4 separate regions of the Homo sapiens genome follow, and regions 2, 3 and 4 are each linked to region 1. Evidence: promoter capture Hi-C in 16 types of primary human blood cells and fetal thymus (Javierre and others, 2016). All regions are on one chromosome and are shown on one strand. The core of a region is centred on a gene start or on the middle of the fragment in contact, and the rest is flanking DNA. Distances in the headings are between cores, read along the strand shown.

Region 1 (2,734 bases), core at 166-2,665:
TGTAGATACTCTGCCCCCAAGGAGGTGGAGCAAAATCCCCGACTCCTTACGTGTGGGCTGTGCATGGGGACGTCCTTCCAAAGAGTACAGTAGAGAAAAGAGGGGTGGGGGGACCTGACAAACACTACTTCAGTCAAGTGATCAAGTCAGCACCAACAGTGGTAAGTAACGTTGAACAGTAAGAACCCTTCCTTGGTAGGATGTGATGAGCATAGCACTTTACCTCTGTGATCTTCCTTCCAAAACGCCATAACGCTTGTCTAATCCTGAGAAAAACATCAAATCCCAATAGAGGGCCAGCCCACCAAAGATTTGGCCAGTACTCCTCAAAACTATCAAGGTCATCAAAAATAAAAAGCTGAGGCCAGGCGCGGTGGCTCACGCCTGTAATCCCAGCACTTTGGGAGGCTGAGACGGGCAGATCATGAGGTCAGATCAAGACCATCCTGGCCAACATGGTGAAACCCCGTCTCTACCAAAAATACAAAAATTAGCCGGGCATGGTGGTGTGTGCCTGTAATCCCAGCTGCTCAGGAGGCTGAGACAGGAGAATCGCTTGAACCTGGGAGGCAGAGGTTGCAGTGAGCTGAGATCATGCCACTGCACTCCAGCTAAAATAAAAATAAAAGGCTGAGACACTGTCATTAACAGTAGTCTAAGACATGACAACGAAATATAATGTGGTATCCTGAATGGAAACCTGCAGCAGAAAAAGGCATTAAGTAAAAGGAAGGAAATCTGAATAAACTACACTTTAGTTAATATGACAACAGTGCATCGTTAATTTTAACAAATGTAGCACACTAATAATGTAAGATTTTAGTAATAGGGGAAATTGCAGGGATGGGTGGCACATGGGAACTCTCTACTATCTTCTCAATTTTTCTGTAAATCTGTTCTAAAAAATAACGTCCGTTATTATTATTATTATTATTATTATTATTTGCGGGGAGGGGACACAGTCTTGCTCTGTCTCCCAGGCTGGAGTGCAGTGGTGAGATCTCGGCTCACTGCAATCTCCGCCTCCTGGGTTCAAGCGATTCTCATGTGTCAGCCTCCCCAGTAGCTAGGGCTACAGGTGCCTACCACCACACCCGGCTAATTTTATATTTTTAGTAGAGACGTGGTTTCACCATGTTGGTCAGGCTGGTCTCGAACTCCTGACCTCAGGTGATCCGCCCGCCTCAGCCTCCCAAAGGGCTGGGATTACAGGCAGGAGCCACCATGCCTGGCAAAAATAACGTCCATAAACAAAAACACGTGGCCAACAGGGGCGGAGCAGAACCGAGTTTCCGGAAGCAAAACAGGGCTTTGTACCGAACAAAGATGGCGGCCGCCGGCGTCGGGAGGAGGGCTGCCCTGAAGAAAGATGGCCTCCGCGAGAGGAGGAACCGGAAGCGTGGGTCTGGCGGCTGCACCGGTTCGCGGTCGGCGCGAGAACAAGCAGGGTGGCGCGGGTCCGGGCATGAAGCTGGGCCGGGCCGTGCTGGGCCTGCTGCTGCTGGCGCCGTCCGTGGTGCAGGCGGTGGAGCCCATCAGCCTGGGACTGGCCCTGGCCGGCGTCCTCACCGGCTACATCTACCCGCGTCTCTACTGCCTCTTCGCCGAGTGCTGCGGGCAGAAGCGGAGCCTTAGCCGGGAGGGTAGGCTGGGGCGGGGGCTGGAGGCTGGGGCTGGGGCTGGGGCTGGGCGATGGCACTAGGGCTGAACTAGGACCAGGGCATGGAGAATGGAGGATGGAGGCCGGGGGATGGCACCAGGGCCGGGCTAGGACTAGGGCTGGAGCGGGGCCTGGGGGCTGGGGCTGGGCGATGGCACTAGGGCCGGGTTGGGGCTGGGGCTGGGGCTGGGGGATGGAGCGGGGCCCGGGGGCTGGGGGTGGGGCTGGGGGATCGCACTAGGGCTGGGTTAAGACCAGGGCGGTTGGCTGGGGCTAGGGGATTGAGGATGGTGGATGGAGGCTGGGGGATGGCAGTAGGGCCGGGCTAGGACTGGGGCTGGAGCGGAGTTTGGGGGCTGGGGCTCAGGAGCGGGGGCTGGGGCTGGGGCTGGGGCTGGGGGATGGCACTAGGGCCAGGCCGGGGTAGGGGTCACATCCCAGGAGGGCCGGGCCTGGGCAGAGCTGAGTCCGCGGGGGCCGGACCCCGGAAGCCAAGCGGCCGGCCTGCAGGATGAGGCCTGGCTCCTCGGCCATGACCACAGACGTGCCAGACTTAAGTCGGAGACCTGAGGAGCCAGGCTGCAGGTTGGCCTACTTTGCGCTAAGCTGGGGGTGGACCAGTGGTAACCTCCCTCCGAAGTGGGTTCTGCCTCCTTTCTAGCCTAGCGGGAGACAGGAAGGATGGTGAGGACTCTTCCGCAGCCGACCAGGAGGGACCAAACTGTTTCCTTTCCCGGCTCTGCCTTGGGGTGGGAGGAGCAGCACAGGGGTTAGGGGTGCAAACTGGTGGCAGTGGCAGTGGCACCAAGGGGCTTTTCGGGAAGGAGTCGGGCCAGGGCTTTAGAATAGGCAGGACCAGCAAAGGGAGGGCTCCCTGGACCGCCGTCCCCTCTGGGCCAGGAGCTTACAGACCGCAGTACTTGAGGTTTCGCAAGGTGCTTGGAGGGCGTCTAGACGGCTTTGCTGGCTTTCTTATGGGCTGTAAATGTGGCTACATTTTGCCGCTGTTTCTTCCCCACTCCTGATTGGCTTTGTCTTTCCCAGCACTGCAGAAGGATCTGGACGACAACCTCT
Region 2 (2,821 bases), core at 303-2,802, 790 kb after region 1:
CAGGAGGCTGTGAATTGAGCTACGTGAGCTGCAGTGGTCAGGACCTAGGTTAATACTGTAAGCCACGTCCCCCTACCCTTCACCCCAACCCCAGGCTGGCTCAGGTCTCAGAAAGAGGGAAGACAAGAACATCAGAGGGCCAGCAGCTACTATTTCCCAAGCTCTTATTCCAGGCCAGATCCAGAACAGGCTCTCCACGACAGGCTTTGGGTCCAGTCCTCTCAGAACCCTCGCAATGGCCAATGTTTATCTCAAGGATGGGGAAACGCGGAGGCTCTGAGATGAGGCAGCCTGCCTGAGGTCACCGAGTACTAAGCGGCCAAGCTCTGGGGGATCTCAAGGCTGTGGCAGGGTTTCCCAGCTTCTGCCTGCTACAACTGCCACTGCTCCTTCCAGGCCACAACTGTAGGACTTCTGGGCCCCCAAGTGAGAAGCCCACATGGTGTTAAAGATGAGCCTGAACAAATAAACGCTACAGGGGTGACTGAGGCCCACTGTTTGCGGGAGAGTCCAGAGCAGCCCCTGCTGTCCCCACTGGGAGGCAGAGCCTGCAGGTGCGAGGTAACATCACCAGCCCCCAAGCCTGCTTCACTCCAGGGATGGATCCAAATCCAGTCAACCCACACTGTGTCCGTCCCCCTGGCACCCTGTCCGTCCTCCAGGGCCTAAGCTGAGACCCCTCCACCTCCTCTCCACAATGAAAAGCCCACGGCAAGGTCCCCTACCAAATGGACACTTCTACTGCTGTGTAGGGCCTGGCCCCACTTGGGCAGCCATCTCTTGTGCCCTACAATCTTAGGCGGACACCTCCTCATTCCACCGTCACCACAGCACTTACAGCACCCTCAGCCTGGGTGCCTAAGCATATCATCCTACGCGCCTCCTCCCCTGCGCTAGACCACCCCACTAATGACTCTGGCCTGTGCACTCACTCATTCCGTCTGGACCCCAACAACGTCCCCGACTCCCTTGAGCCACTCTGCCCAGTCTCCTATTCACCCCATGCCGGACCCCTCAATAGTCCCACCATGCCGGGCACCGGGCATCCCCGCGTTGGACCTCAGCAATATCCCCGTCTTCAGAAATTGCTCACTCCACCCCAGGCATCTTGGGCAGCCCCTTCTTCTCTTGCCCCCACCCCGGAATATCATTGAAACTCACCCAGGTACCCTCTGGCGCCGCTCACGGCCCGCACGCCTGCTCCTTCCATCCCGGGTGCTCTCCCCGCCTCGGATCGGGTACCTGCGCGCCTGCTCCAATCCCCGCCACGTTCCAGGCCCGGGCATCACCTCCCTGACCCAAGTACCTTCTCGTTCCGCTCCCAAGCAAGGCACCCTCTCGCACCGTCCCCGGCCCGGGTACCCACTCATTCCAACCCCGACACCTTCCTGGTCCTGTTGGGCCCGGACACCTGCGCCTACTCGGTCCTCCGCTCAAGTCCCGGCCCTGCCGCGCTGCCCGCCCGCCTTGGGGGCTCGGCCGGGGCCGATACTCACCCGGGATGCCATCGCTGCGGAAGGGCAGCGTCTCCTTCCCCGGCGGCTGCGCAACCAAACCGGCCGCCCGGGGGCGTGGCCTAGCGCCAAGCCCCCACCCTCTTCTGGCCAATGAGCATCGCTGAGTCTCTCAGGGCCGCCGCAGCCTCTGGCCAATTAGGCGGGTCATGTGACCAAGCTTATATTCCGCCTCTCCCGCCCTCTTCCCCTCCTCCTAGTGCGGTTGAAGCGCGAAAGTGGTCTCTTCTCTTCTACTATTGGTCATTCAGATTAGATCGACATGGGCGGCTGGGTGGGGCGGGGCCATTCTTAAAGGGGCTGAAGCGGAGCAGTCAGACCTCCAAGGGGCTTTCTTGGAGTACGCCAAAGCAGGCTGAGCCCTCGTATTAGGATCCTCTATTCTTGTTCCACACAAGGACAAATCCTTCCCACTCTCCAAGCGCCCATTTTCAAATACTACCGCCCCTGACTTCCCGCAGCATGCTCTTATACTGTCGCCACTCTCCCCCTTGTTCTGGAGTTGTTTGCAAAAGTGCCAGGTCTCGCCGCTAGACAGTGTCTCTCTGAGAGCTGGAGTCAAGGGGTCTTCAGTTCTGGCCACCTATCTGGGTCTTACACTAAATACCAGGATTGAGATCAGGCCGACCTGAGATAGAATCAAGTGTTGCCACTTCAGCTCTCTAGAGCTTACCCCTCTATGAAATAGGGATGAGGCCGGGCGCGGTGGCTCACGCCTGTAATCCTAGCAGTTTGGGAGGCCGAGGTGGGTGGATCACGAGGTCAGGAGTTCGAGACCAGCCTGGCCAACCTGGTGAAACCCTGTCTCCACTAAAGATTAAAAAAAAAAATTAGCCAAGCTTGGTAGCACACACCTGTAATCCCAGCTACTCAGGAGGCTGAGGCAGGAGAATCTCTTGAACCCGGGAGGCAGAGGTTGCAGTGAGCTGAGATCCACCCATTGCACTCCAACCTGGGCCAAAGGGCGAGACTCCGTCTCAAAAAGAAAAAAAGAAATAGGGATAAAATCTTCCCTTTCCCAAATCATAGGGCTTTGGTGAGGATGGAAAGAGGACGGTGTATCAGCCCTTCCATAACTGCGAAGAGCTGGGCACAACTACGTTTTAAAATTGTAATCGTCGGCCGGTAGCAGTGGCTCATGCCTCTATTCCCAGCACTTTGGGAGGCTGAGGTGAGTGGATCACATGAGGTCAGGAGTTCGAGACCAGCCTGGCCAAAATGGTGAAAACCGGTCTCTACTAAAAATAAAAAAGCTAGCTGGGCGTGGTGGCACACACCTATAATCCCAGCTACTTGGGAGGCTGAGG
Region 3 (2,966 bases), core at 460-2,959, 690 kb after region 1:
AGCACATGGTTCTACAGACCCTTGTGGGGCCCCACCGAAAGATGCTGACCCTCCCCCACAAACCTCCGCCCGCCCCGACCCTTTCAGACCTGCTGCAGCAGTCACCAAGGCCAGTTAGTGACCAAGTCTTAGACCCTCATCTCAAGACTCCTGTGGTGTTCAGGAGAAACTGAAGGAGAACTGGGCGGAGGACCTGACAGTCAGCAGCGGCTCTTTCGGAAGAGGCCCAGTGGTGCTTCCTTTTCAATAACCCGCTCCGGCCGGCCCTGCCATTTTGGGCAGCAGCTCTGGCTCTTCTGATCCACTGTAAGGCCACCAGCCTTGGTTCATCTGAGCCTGGAGGCAGCCATGGGCTTCTCTCTCACCCCTCCTCCTCACCTCGGTAATAAACAGGATACACTCCAGGAACATGTAGTCCTTGTGGTTCTCATTCACGGCCTTCTCATCCACAAAGTGTCTGGGCTCCAGGTATGGGTGGTCTGGGAAAAGGAATGGGCCCCAGCATTCAGAACCAGGCCCCACGACTACCTGGGCAACCCGGCCCAGCAGTCACACCCCCCCAGGGGCCTCAGTCCTGCCCGTGGTGCCCTCAACACCTCACCTTGAAGGAGCAATAAGTAACTCTGGGTTTGTGTATTCTAATGTGCTAAGCTCTAGCTGCATGGCGTTGGACGCATGACTTCAGCCTGCCAAGGTTCAGTTTCCTCACCTGGACACTGGGGACAAGAAGAGCACCTCCTCCTAGGGGCCATGACAACAATTACCACACCTACAGCACTCAGTATGGTGCCTGGTGCAGGTGCCAGTCAGCAGAGCCGGCTTCATGCTGGCAGACCCTTCGCAGTGTCACTGAGAAGATTCGGGGAGGCAATGCACCCGAGGCCACAACTAATGGTCATTTATGAATATCAGTCTGTAGGCAGTTCATTCTTCATCAAAATAGAGATGATCACCTACGCCCATCCTGAAAACTAGCTTCAAGAGTTGGGGAGTCACCAGAGCAGGCCTCTCTGAGCCCCACAGGAAGCAGGCCCACCACCCAGCACTTGGCGGCTGCTCCCTAACGGGCCCCTTTGCACACAGCTCGATAATAACAGTGGATGACACTGGTCACCAAATCAAAAGGGTCCCTCATTTTCAACATAAAACCCCACAGCTGCTGCCAGGAGCTGGGGCGCATTTCACACCAGTCCATTATGCACCAGGCGTGCGCCCTTGCTCCAGCCCATGTCACTTCCCATTATCTTGGTGGCGCTTGGCCTCCGCCTCCTCCAGCCCACCACACGGGCTCTCACAGCAGAAGGTCGACAGTAAACAGCCTCCCTCAATAGCTGGTCTAATGCCCTGCTTTCCAAGCTGTCACTGTCTGCCCTGGGCAGGAAGAAGGGAAGGAGGGAGCGCAGGAGGGGCAGGGGAGGGCCACAGAACGCAGCCTTGGTTGGGGGTGGAGGGATAGGCACCTCCCGCTCTAGTACCTATCAGCTGCGAACTGCCCCAGATGAAGGGCAGAAACTGGAAGTCATCCAGACCCCACACTCCCTGGCTGCCGGCTGGCTCCATCCTGTATGTTTTCTGGAGTTTCCGCATAACCTCAAGGTACCTGCACAGGAGGACAGGGAAAGGGAAGGTAGCAAAAAGTAAAAAGACAGTCTCACCCTTTCGGCCACTGGGAGCACAAGGAGACCCCAAAATAACCACTGAAGAGTGTTAACTGGTCTCAATTTCAATAATGTAGCTTTATTTCCCCCAACAAACACTCAGCCATCTTTTGGCTCAGGAAAGGCATAAAAATCACTGATTAAGGGCCCGGGCACGGTGGCTCACGCCTGTAATCCCAGCACTTTGGGAGGCCGAGGCAGGCGGATCACAAGGTCAGGAGATCGAGACCATCCTGGCCAACACGGTGAAACCCCGTCTCTACTAAAAATCCAAAAAATCAGCCAGGTGTGGTGGTGGGCGCCTGTGGTCCCAGCTACTCTGGAGGCTGAGGCAGGAGAATGGCATGAACCCAGGAGGCAGAGCTTGCAGTGAGCCGAGATCTCTCCACTGCACTCCAGCCTGGGCGACAGAGCAAGACCCTGTCTCAAAAAAAATAAACAAATAAATAAATAAAAAATCACTGATTAGGAAGGTGGGTTTTGGTGCCATCAACTCCTGACAACTTGTAAAACCCTGGGCAGGGCCTCAGCCTCTCCAGCCTCAGTTGGCCTGTCTGAAAGCTAACACAAGTCCCAGCAGGTTATCTCCTAGGTTCTTCTGGTTCCAACCTTCTATATTATCAGAGGCTGCATATCAACCACCTGTGAAGCATCGAGCACTGCTCCTGGGCTCCGTCACAGGCCTGCTGCAGCAGCACTGCTAGACTGGGGCCCGCAATGGGGATTTTAAGAGCTCTGGGTAACTGATCCACATCAGTGCTGCCCAGCGACTGGCTTGGGTGGTGTGGGGCAGCAGGTCAGAGTCTGACTACCTGGGTTCAGCTGGCGTGAACCCAGTGAAGACACCGGATATCTCTGTGCCTCAGTTTCCTCATATGTAAAATGGAAATAACAGTTGCTATTTCATAGGGTTGTTGTTAGAATTAATGAGTTATACATAAAGTGCTTAGAATTCTTCCTCCATATGGTCAACACTGTGTCAATACTGGCAGACATTATGTGACAATTCTTTTTTTTTTTAAGACAGAGTCTCACTCTGTCACCCAGGCTGGAGTACAGTGGCACGATCTCAGCTCACTGCAACCTCCGCCTCCTGGGTTCAAGCAATTCTTCTGCCTCAGCCTCCTGAGTAGCTGGAATTACAGGCGAGTGCCACCACGCCCAGCTAATTCTTGTATTTTTAGTAGAGACGGGGTTTCATCATGTTGGCCAGGCTGGTGTCGAACACCTGACCTCGTGATCCGCCTGCCTGGGCCTCCCAAAGTCCTGGGATTACAGGCGTGAGCCACCGCGCCCGGCCTATGTGAC
Region 4 (2,741 bases), core at 150-2,649, 700 kb after region 1:
ATTGGCTTTCTTTTGCTCAGTCTGTCTTTCCACAGCCTGTACCACAAGCCTGAGAGGTACAAGTAGTTATCTTCTGCCCATCATTTCAGCTGAGCAGCAGAGAAAGCCAGTCTGTGCCCAGTGCTCTGGGTCCCAGCTCCCAGGTATTTGCAGGCTTAGCCATATCCCTGGCCAAAGTTTCCATGAGATAGCCTCTTCTCCCCTTGAGGCACTGGCTGCCACACTTGCTGTTACTTGCAGCCAAGAATCAAAGTGACTCGCTCCATCATTTCAAACACTCATGTTCAGCCAATACAGCAACACTCAAGGGGCAATGGCTTAAGAGAACCAGGAGCGGAACTCTCCCGGGCTACCCTGGCAGCAGCCTGAAAAAGTAGGCAACCTTCCTGATAAAGCATCTCTGAGTACTGCCTCTGAAGGGAAGAGACAGCCAGCTCCCCTGTCACCTTTCTCCCTAGCTTCTGAAAAGTCAGGCTCCAAGAGCAAGAAGGGCCAGGAACTCACCGCCCGTCATGCTAGGAAAACCACTGTCTTTGAAAAGCCCAAGTTTCTCACCACAGTTCCAAATGGTACCTGAGAACGCTTCCATTTGCCCATGTCTGGAACTGTGTGGATCTCCTTTTTTGGAATGATGAAGTTCTGAGTGGCTGGAGGGGCCTCCTCTGAAGAATCTTGACAAAAAAAAATGAAAAAACAAACAGATAAATAGAATCCTCCCCTACAACACACACACTCCCTTTCACCTTTTTTTTTTTTCTTGAGACGGAGTTTTGCTCTTGTTGCCCAGGCTGGAGTCCAGTGACACGATCTTGGCTCAATGCAACCTCCACCTCCAGGGTTCAAGCGATTCTCCTGCCTCAGTCTCCTGAGTAGCTGAGATTACAGGCACGTGCCACCACACCCAGCTAATTTTTTTTTTTTTCTTTGAGACAGAGTCTCGCTCTGTCGCCCAGGCTGGAGTGCAGTGGCGCGATCTCAGCTCACTGCAACCTCTGCCTCCCGGGTTCAAGCGATTCTCCTGCCTCAGTGTTCTGAGTAGCTGGGATTACAGACGTATGTCACCATGCCTAGCTAATTTTTGCATTTTTAGTAGAGACGGGGTTTCACCATGTTGGCCAGGCTGATCGCAAACTCCTGACCTCAGGTGATCCACCCGCCTTGGCCTCCAAAGTGTTGGGATTACAGGTATGAGCCAAAGCGCCCGGCCTCTCTCTCACTTTTAAACCAGGACTCCAACACCTGAGCCTTAGAATAAACCAGACACATACTTCCAGGACAGAGTAAGGGCTTGTTAAGCCAAACCCACAGCCTCCTGCCCTCCCTCACTCTGGGGAGGAAAGAGAAGGGCAATACTGACAATCCCTTCAATAACCATGCCCTCCCTTCCCTCTCCCCCCCAGAGCAGAACCGTTAGAAAAATAAAACCAAGTTGATGTTTCAGACATACACAGGCAATTCACAGAAGAAAAAAAAACAGGTCAGGTGCGGTGGCTCACGCCTGTAATCCCAGCACTTTGGGAGGCCAAGGCAGGCAGATCACAAGGTAAGGAGATCGAGACCATCCTGGCTAACATGGTGAAATCCCATCTCTACTAAAAAAGTACAAAAAAATTAGCCAGGCGTGGTGGCGGGCGCCTGCGGTCCCAGCTACTTGGGAGGCTGAGGCAGAAGAATGGCGTGAACCTGGGAGGCGGAGCTTGTGGTGAGCCGAGATTGCACCACTGCACTCCAACCCAGGCAACAGAGCGAGACTTCGTCTCAAAAAAAAAAAAAAAACCTAATTGCAGTAAACATTTGGAATAAATTGCCAACCTCCTGAATAAGCACGGACACGTAAATTATATGTGATTTCTCTTTCTGGATAAGGTTGGCAAATTAAAAACATCTGGCTAGGTGTGGTGGCTCATACCTAATCCCAGCAATTTGGGAGGCCAAGGCAGGCAGATCACTTGAGGCCAGGGGTTCAAGACCAGGCTGGCCAACTTGGCAAAACGCCATCTTTACAAAAAAAATTTAAAAATTAGCTGGGTGTGGTTGCATACCTGTAGTCCCAGCTACTTGGGAGGCTGAAGCAGGAGGATCACCTGAGTCCAGGAGGTGGGGGTTGCAGTGAGCTGAGATCATACCACTGCACTCCAGCCTGGACAACAGAACGAGACTCTGTCTCAATAAAAACAAAACAAGATTCCAGGAAGAGGAAACAAGAATTCTCCCGCTCTGTGGGTGGGAAGGACCTCCTAAGGGGACAATCTTTTGGAATAAAAAACTGCATATACACAATGAGTCAACAGGTCTACTTACAGGAATCTATCTTTCAGATGTGCTCACGGAAACACAAAGGTGTTTAATGCATCAAAAAAAAAAAAAAAAGCTGGGCATAGTGGCTCACACCTGTAATCTCAGCACTTTGGGAGCCCCAGGTGGGAGGATCACTTGAGTCCAGGAGTTTGACACCAACCTGGGCAACACAGCGAGACCCCATCTCTACTTTAAAAAAAAAAAAATTTTAGGCGGGGCGCGGTGGCTCATGCCTACAATCCCAGCACTTTGGGAGGCCAAAGTGGGTGGATCACACCTGAGGTCAGGAGTTGGAGATGCGCCTGACCAACATAGTGAAACCCCATTTCTACTAAAAATATAAAATTATTCAGGTGTGGTGGCGCATGCCTATAATCCCAGCTACTTGGGAGGCTGAGGAAGGAGAATTGCTTGAACCAGGAGGCAGAGGTTGCAGTGAGCCA

What was found. The method cuts DNA at HindIII sites, captures the fragments that hold promoters and counts their contacts. A CHiCAGO score of 5 or more calls a contact.
Region 2: the fragment with the promoter of MIGA2 here is called in contact with the fragment with the promoter of TOR1A in region 1 in 4 of 17 cell types (naive B cells, monocytes, total B cells and 1 more); the score reaches 6.7 in naive B cells.
Region 3: a fragment that was not itself captured here is called in contact with the fragment with the promoter of TOR1A in region 1 in 3 of 17 cell types (fetal thymus, naive CD4 T cells and activated CD4 T cells); the score reaches 6.0 in fetal thymus.
Region 4: a contact is called between a fragment that was not itself captured here and the fragment with the promoter of TOR1A in region 1, in 2 of 17 cell types (naive CD8 T cells and naive CD4 T cells). The highest score is 5.2, in naive CD8 T cells.

Annotation. Positions count from the first base shown.
Region 1 is chr9:129,822,817-129,825,550 of GRCh38, reverse strand. It overlaps TOR1A (torsin family 1 member A), which reads left to right and starts at 1,415. Exons shown (of 5, transcript NM_000113.3): 1 at 1,415-1,643; 2 at 2,705-2,734. The coding sequence starts at 1,466. RefSeq lists an enhancer at 1,221-1,530 and a silencer at 1,941-2,030. The HindIII fragment of the contact is 11,037 bases long and covers 1-2,734 here.
Region 2 is chr9:129,035,357-129,038,177 of GRCh38, reverse strand. MIGA2 (mitoguardin 2) reads right to left here and starts at 1,552. Exons shown (of 16, transcript NM_001329990.2): 1 at 1,497-1,552. RefSeq lists an enhancer at 968-1,097 and a silencer at 1,438-1,567. The HindIII fragment of the contact is 1,706 bases long and covers 1-1,676 here.
Region 3 is chr9:129,135,105-129,138,070 of GRCh38, reverse strand. It overlaps PTPA (protein phosphatase 2 phosphatase activator), which reads right to left. Exons shown (of 10, transcript NM_178000.3): 7 at 1,476-1,600; 8 at 379-479. Among named protein-coding and RNA genes, the nearest start is that of PTPA, 25 kb to the right of the region's middle. The HindIII fragment of the contact is 5,800 bases long and covers 1-2,966 here.
Region 4 is chr9:129,118,443-129,121,183 of GRCh38, reverse strand. PTPA (protein phosphatase 2 phosphatase activator) reads right to left here. Exons shown (of 10, transcript NM_178000.3): 2 at 574-671. Among named protein-coding and RNA genes, the nearest start is that of PTPA, 8.4 kb to the right of the region's middle. The HindIII fragment of the contact is 9,099 bases long and covers 1-2,741 here.